Regions from separate parts of the Homo sapiens genome. Here region 2 is linked to region 1. Evidence: promoter capture Hi-C in 16 types of primary human blood cells and fetal thymus (Javierre and others, 2016). All regions are on one chromosome and are shown on one strand. The core of a region is centred on a gene start or on the middle of the fragment in contact, and the rest is flanking DNA. Distances in the headings are between cores, read along the strand shown.

Region 1 (3,696 bases), core at 597-3,096:
CCTTGGCTGTTACCGGTGGAAGGTGTCCAGGTTCTTGGCATCTTGAACAAGGAATTAGACAAAACGCACAAACAAAGCAAGGAAGGAATGAAGCAACAAAAGCAGAGATTTATTGAAAATGAAAGTACACTCCACAGGGTGTGAAGAGCCGGAACATGGGGCTCAAGAGCGGGGCGGCCGGGTTATAGAATTTTCTGGGGTATAAACACCCTCTAGAGGTTTCCCATTGGCCACTTGGTGTACACCCCACGCAAATATAGTGGCCCACAATCAGTCTGATAGCGGAAAGCAACCAATCAGAGCCTGAAGCGAAGTTACAAAGGTTACACCCTATGCAAACATTTAATTAGTTATGGAAAGCAACCAATCCGAGGTACTTTCAATTTTCCGTCTGCCACGCAGAAAAGGGCGGTGGTGGGGGAGGGGGCCGGGTCCCTTTGTTACTTAGCTGTGGAAAGTTGGGGCTTTCCTTTTGATTTAGTTCTAGAAAGTCAGCATGAATCAGCCGTAAGTTCCTTGCCTCCAGACCCTATTGTCCTGCCTCACAGCTATGTAGTACAGAGTCTGTCACAGGCTACCCAGAAATGTACACAGAGACTGTTAACAGGCTACAGAACAGATTGGGAAAGGGCTCTGGGGTTGTGACCCTCACCAAGCACAGGCATCTTGCATCTCTGACATGTTAATGGTGGATGCCAGCACTCTCACTACTGCCTCGGAAGCTTACCTTGCTGTTAGGGATGGGTTCTCGATCTCTACACTTGCTATACTCCTACAGGTGACCTGGGAGTGTAGCTTTCTGTGCCTTTTTTGACTCATGGCTTCCAGCGGGTACACATGATTAGTTAAACAAGTGTTCAGCATTTCAGCGGCAGCCATTAGACTCTTAACTCAGGTGGGGAATTCTCCAAATACGGAAGGGGATTCAAATGGGGGGCATAATAAATGTATATAAATGTCCATTAAAGGCAAGTTGAGTTGGAAGTGATGACAATATATTTGAGTAGAAACATCTAGCAGGTAGTTGGAAATGTGGCACTCGTGTTCCCCAGAGAGCTAGTTACAGATTTGGGAAGTTGAGTTGTGATTGCTTTTAAAATCAGGAGTCTAGAGAGAATCTAACTCAAAATTTTCATCCACATATGCAGAATCTCAATCTGAGAGTTGTTCATTCCTATAGATGTGCTGGCCACACCAACCCCCAACATCTATTATGAAAATTAGGAAATTCACACTCTATTATGGAAAATAGGAAAAATATATAGATAATACATGCAAAACAAGTGGGAGGAGAGAACTACGGATCGTGGAGAGCCTATTGCATATTATTATTTTACAAATATTTAAGTGCCAACTATGTGTCAGGCACTATGCTAAGGTGATTTAATGTTGAGCAAAACCCGACATGTCCCTGCATTTGAGGAACTGAAAGGTCTGAGGGAGGGCCTAAGGAGCTTGGGCCTTAGCTGGTTACAAAGCCATATATTATGCCATATATATTAATGAGCAGCAACGCCTCCCGCAGTATTTACAGCCCACGCGTGGCAGTCCTGTCCACCCTGTCCCCGTTCGGTCCAGCCCGAGGCGGTGGCCTAGATGCTTGATGGGCACTGTCAGCCTGATCTTTGGTGGTCTTCCCGCTGTCTGTTCTCAGCTGCTGATTCCAGGTCCCAGGAGTCGACTTTGGCTTGAGGAAGGCAGGCGCCTTAGGTGGGGCAGTTGACACTCGCGCAGCGCCTTGCTCACCTGAGTGTGTGGCGGCGCGCGGGTTTGGGCGGGGAGGGGGCCGGGCCTCGGGAAGGAGGCGCGCCGCGCAGTTTGACCCCGGCGGCGTTCCGTACCGTCGCGGATTTCGGCGGCGGAAACATGGCGGTCGCGGCCGGGCCGGTAACGGAGAAAGTTTACGCCGACACTGGCCTGTATTAGCGCGTATGGCCTCGGGCCCTCGTTCCCCAAGGCGTGCCGCCTCCCTGTTCTCAGTCGCAGGCTGAAGCCTTGTCTGCTCTCCTCCTTTTTGGTTTGGTTTTGGAACTGACTCCGAGGGTTGGGAGAGCGCGTTGGTGGCGACGGCCGAGTCAGGTAGGGAGAAATGGGTGGACGGCAGGGCGGCGAGATCTAGGCATAGACACTGCCAGGGCTCCGCGTGGTCCGGACCCCAAGCTCCGCCCAGTCGGCCTCCCAGGGCCGGGGTAGGATACCTGCCTCTGGAGGAGTTGACAGTGGTGGTTGGAGATTGGAGGGTGTGGGAGCGCCTCTCCGTATTTCGCAAGGGTTCCCCCTCAACTGGGCGCCACGTTGTGGTCGCGTTCTCCGAGGCAGAGGATGGTGGAGAACAGCCAAGCTCCTTGTCGGACCTCCCACATCTCGCTAGAAGGAGGCCGAAAGGGAGAGAAATTGCTGTTGCTGCTCTAGTGCTGAGGAGTTTGATATTCTAGATGACATTTTCCTCGTATGAGATGGCTCAAAGAGTTATCAGTAATTCAGAACTGAAGCACTGAAATTCCCTGTTTTTTCAGTGTAGTTCTTTCAGCCTTGACACTTCTAGATGGGACAGAGTTTCTGAGTGAAAGATAATGCAAGTGATACGGTATGCCTCAAGCCATTCCCTAGAGGTAGGACATGGAGAGAGAATTGGTTTGGAAGAATTTGGGTGAATTAAGTAAAGACTGGTGGAAAGCTGAAATAGAAACCAAACATTCATGGACTCTCCCTTAGTTCTACTAGTTATTAGTTGTGGGATATAGCTAAGTTCTGTATTCTCTTTAGGCATTAGTAAGTGTCCAATGGTGACTATTGTTGTTAAATGTAGTTATTTCTTTATTAGTCTTTATTTTTCAACAAGTATTTATTGAATACCTTCTTGATGCCGGATTTTTGCTAGTCACTGGGTGTACAGTATTGAAGACAAACCCTCAGAGACCTTTTGATCTAGTGGGAAATGCAGACATGAAATAAGTGATGGTATGTAACAGAGAAAGTATGGGGGTCATGTAATGGGGAGGGGGCAGGGATAATCTCTTAAGAAAATGATTTATCTGAGACCTGAAGAGTTGGAATAAGCCAGGTGTGAGCACTGGGGTGGGGCCAGGAGGAGGAAAAGGAGTGTACCTGGCAAGGGAATAGCATTTGTGCAGTTTGTAATTGAAAGGTCAGTAAGGTTGGAAAATAAAGTGTGAGAGGAAAACTGGTAACAGATAAGGCAGGAGAGTTATTCAGGCCCAACACGGAGTGCCTTATAAGGCACTGTAAGGAGTTTTGACTTTATTGCTAAGGGTGATGGGACGCCATTGGAGCATTTTACATAGTGGAGTGCTAAATTTTGGTTTTAAAAAGTACACTTCTTAGAGAGGGCAAGAGTGGATACAGGGAAATGTTCAACATGATGGTGGCCAAAATTGGGATGGTGACCCTGGGGACGAGAAGTAGAAACATTTAAAAAATGTTTAGGAAGAATAGTAGACAGGACTTGGTGAGGATTAAATGTAGATGATGGTGGAGAGGAGGGTTAGAATAGTATGTAAGGTTTTATGAAATAATCAGACTCTGGCAGTGATTGGTTAGCTTTTCCCATATGCATATTGACTCCTCTATGGTCCATTTTCATCTACCTCTGGAATAATTGTCCATTGAATCATTAGTGACGGCAAACCGATTGAAAAGGAATGTAATGTTTTTCTGTTATTCTCTAACTCAGGC
Region 2 (3,673 bases), core at 454-2,953, 1.1 Mb after region 1:
GTATACTTAGGTGTCCATGGCGGGGCAGCCTGATCACTGCCGTTTGCTTGTTAAAGGGATGATGATGTATCCAATAGTGACATCTTGTGGTTTTTCTACCAAACTGCACTGTTTTACCAGGGAGCCCTCAAATACAATTGCCTTGTCTGCTATTTGCGAGGCTTTCCTTTTGGGAAAACACAAATGTAAGTGAGGGAAAGCCAAATAATACTGGAACTTGCTTTAATAGCTCCCTATGTGAAGACTTGATGGCAATTAGGATGTGTGCCTAGTATGCTAACCTGTCTCATAAGTTATTTTGCCCAAATCATTACTGTAATGAGATATTTCCTTTACTACATCTTTAGGAGTTCTCTGCTTGTATGCAAGCCAGTCCTGTCCATTTTCCTAATGGAAGCCCTCGTGTGTGTAGAAACTCAGCACCTGCTTCTGTGAGCCCAGATGGTACCAGGGTAATTCCTAGACGCAGGTAAGTCATATTCCAAATTATCTTACAATTTGGCCTCACCCGCAAGCTGATCTGGAATGGTTCTCTCATTCTTTATGGCACAATTTGTCAAATACGCTATTTCTTAATGAAATAACTAACCCGCGAGGCAGCTGCAGACCTCTGCCACCAGTAAAACAGCAACAGCATGAGAAATAAATAAACTCAAACATTTGATTATATTGAGGCAAACAGGAGAAAACAAAACGGAATGTATTTTCCCCCCTTTGGTTTCATAGCATTCTAGCACATGATAAAGTACAATTTGGAGACTGAGTTAATGACCTTTTTTTTCCCCCTGAAACAGCCCGTTAAGTTACCCAGCTGTCAACCGATATTCTTCCTCCTCACTGTCCTCACAAGCTTCTGCTGAAGTAAGCAATATTACAGGGCAATCAGAAAGCTCTGATGAAGTCTTTAACATGCAGGTACTTAATTAGCTTTTTGTCTGGTTGTGTTTATTCCTTTTCTGTCTCAATCATGAGTGTTTCTGTTCATTCTGCTGTGCTGATGAACAGACCAACAAGCAAGAACTTGGCTTAAGGACAAACCTTTAAACACTCTTCTTGCTTTATGGGTCTCTAGAGTCTACAAAGACGTTTCTCTTAAAACTGCCCCATCGCTTTAAGACGACATCAGCAAGCGATGGAAAAGCCTAGGCACGCTGCACAAGGTTCAGCTCTGAGACCTGCCCCAAGTTCCTTCTGCAGTCCAGGACTCTCAGAGTGTGTTGCCACTCACTAGCTGCCTCTTAGCTTGCCTTTTTTTTTTTTTTTTTTTTTTTTTTTTTTTAGCGAGTCTCACTCTGTCTCCCAGTCTGGAGTGCAGTGGTGCGATCTTGGCTCACTGCAACCTCCGCCTCCCGGGCTCAGGCAGTTTTCGTGCCTCAGCCTCGTGAGTAGCTGGGATTACAGGTGTGTACCACCACGCCCGACTAATTTTTGTATTTTTAGTAGAGACGGGGTTTCACTATGTTGGCCAGGTTGGTCTCGAACTCCTGACCTCAAGTGATCTGCCCAATTTGGCCTCCCAAAGTGCTGGGATTACAGGCATGAGCTACTGCGCCCGGCCCCTCTTAGCATTCCAAAATGGCTTTTTTTTTCTTTAAGAAGACATGATTTGGCTAGGTGCAGTGGCTCATGCCTGTAATCCCAACACTTTGGGAGGCCGAGGTGAGCGAATCACCTTGAGATCTGGAGTTCGAGACCATCCTGGCCAGCATGGTGAAACCCCGTCTCTATCAAAAATACAAAAATTAGCCGGGCATGGTGGCGCATGCCTGTAATCCCAGCTACTCGGGAGGCTGAGGCAGGAGAATCGCTTGAACCTGGGAGGAGGAGGTTGCAGTGAGCCGAGAGCATGTCACTGCACTCCAGCCTGGGCAACAAAGCGAGACTGTGTCTCAAAGAAAAAAGAAAAAAAGACATGATTTGAGGGTCTGTTTTAAAATTATCTTTACTTATGTACATATCAGAAAGTTTCCAAAGGTATTTTTTTTATACAAGAAAAATGTAGTTTTTAGGGATTTTAGAGCCAGTATAACTCCTGCAAGCAAACATTTTATTTAAACACTACTAATATGGCATTTATGATAGTTCAGTAAGACTAAGCTGAAATTTTCCTCACCACTATCTTTGGAAAGGAGACATAACACTTATTTCCAAATTCATGCTTTGAACATACTTGTACAGATAACAAGAAGGCATATTTTATGCCTTTTAGACGCACTCGCCTGTTTTTGGGCCCTAGGCTGGAAGTCATTCTACTTATACCTCAATGAAGGAATGCACTGCTAACTGGTACGAAGTCACAGTGTATAGCTGAATCTAACACGAAGGCATTCCTTTGGCAGGAGTCAAAATCTCAGACTTTTCATTAATTCATGCAGACTTCTTTGTCAATCTAAGTTATTAAGATTTTCTATATTGTTAAACGGACTTTTTGTTGCTAATTTGAAAAAAAGTTGATGATTTTGTTTCAAATACGTCAGTGTCGTGGGAAGCCTTTAATCAGGGTATGATAATAGCTCCCTGTGTGTTTCCAGCCAAGTCCATCTACCTCAAGCTTGAGTTCTACTCACTCGGCTTCACCTAATGTGACAAGTTCTGCTCCATCGAGTGCCAGAGGTCAGTGCCAGAGTGTGGGGAAGACTGAGGGTGCCCAGAGAACCTTCTAGTCCTGGGAACTGTGGCCAGCTGCCACACGTTCAGGCTCTCGCCTCCAAACAGGTGCAGCACCACTACCATGCTGATGATCCTCTCTCTCCTTCTCTTCCCAGCTTCTCCTTTGTTGTCTGACAAACACAAACATTCCCGAGAAAACTCTTGCCTGTCACCAAGAGAGAGACCATGCAGTGCCATCTATCCAACACCTGTGGAGCCTTCGCAGGTACTCCTTGTAGGGTAGAGAAACTAGAAAACAAGGACAATTCTGGAATTGCTTACCTATCTCTGCAGAAACACGCGGTAGCTGCCAAAAGCAAGCAGCTGGGCAGTGTCAGACCAATCCAGCTGGTGAAGATTGCACCTCTGTTTTCTGCCCATGGTTAGAAATTTCTGCCTGAGCCATCTTTTTTTTTTTTTCTTTGAGACAGGATCTCGCTGTCACCCAGGCTAGAGTGCAGTGGCACAATCCTGGCTCACTGCAACCTCCACCTCCTGGGTTCAAGCAATTCTCCTGTCTCAGCCTCCCGAGTAGTTGGGATTATAGGTGCCCACCACCACACATGGCTAATTTTTGTATTTATAATAGAAATGGGGTTTTGCCATGTTGGCCAGGCTGGTCTCGAACTCCTGACCTCAGGTGATCCACCTGCCTTGGCCTCCCAAAGTGCTGGGATTACAGGCATGAGCCACCACTCCCGGCCCTGAGCCATATTTCTGATAGGGACACATGGTAGTTGCTTGGCAGTGATGCTAAAAGGGAAATGGGAAGTTTACCCTCCTTGATCTATTTCATTGCTGCTTCTTAAACATTATGCAAAGTAGTTGGGTGAATAAAGTGCCTGTGTTTGCATGCCCTGTGTATGTAACAGAAGTCTGGGGGAACCTCTTAAACTAGGAAAATACCCTTGAAGAGAAGCATTCTCCTGCCCAGCAGTCTTTGCCTTTGCCTAGACCTATTTAAAAGAGCTGCAATCGATTCCTATCTGGGTACCCATGAGTATAGGAGCAATTTGTTTGCCTT

Evidence for each region. The method cuts DNA at HindIII sites, captures the fragments that hold promoters and counts their contacts. A CHiCAGO score of 5 or more calls a contact.
Region 2: a fragment that was not itself captured here is called in contact with the fragment with the promoter of TMEM168 in region 1 in 1 of 17 cell types (fetal thymus); the score reaches 5.2 in fetal thymus.

Annotation. Positions count from the first base shown.
Region 1 is chr7:112,788,543-112,792,238 of GRCh38, reverse strand. TMEM168 (transmembrane protein 168) reads left to right here and starts at 1,846. Exons shown (of 5, transcript NM_022484.6): 1 at 1,846-2,079. RefSeq lists an enhancer at 1,458-1,587. The HindIII fragment of the contact is 5,754 bases long and covers 725-3,696 here.
Region 2 is chr7:111,738,336-111,742,008 of GRCh38, reverse strand. It overlaps DOCK4 (dedicator of cytokinesis 4), which reads left to right. Exons shown (of 53, transcript NM_001363540.2): 46 at 348-469; 47 at 795-915; 48 at 2,532-2,613; 49 at 2,766-2,875. Among named protein-coding and RNA genes, the nearest start is that of DOCK4-AS1, 68 kb to the left of the region's middle. The HindIII fragment of the contact is 1,701 bases long and covers 853-2,553 here.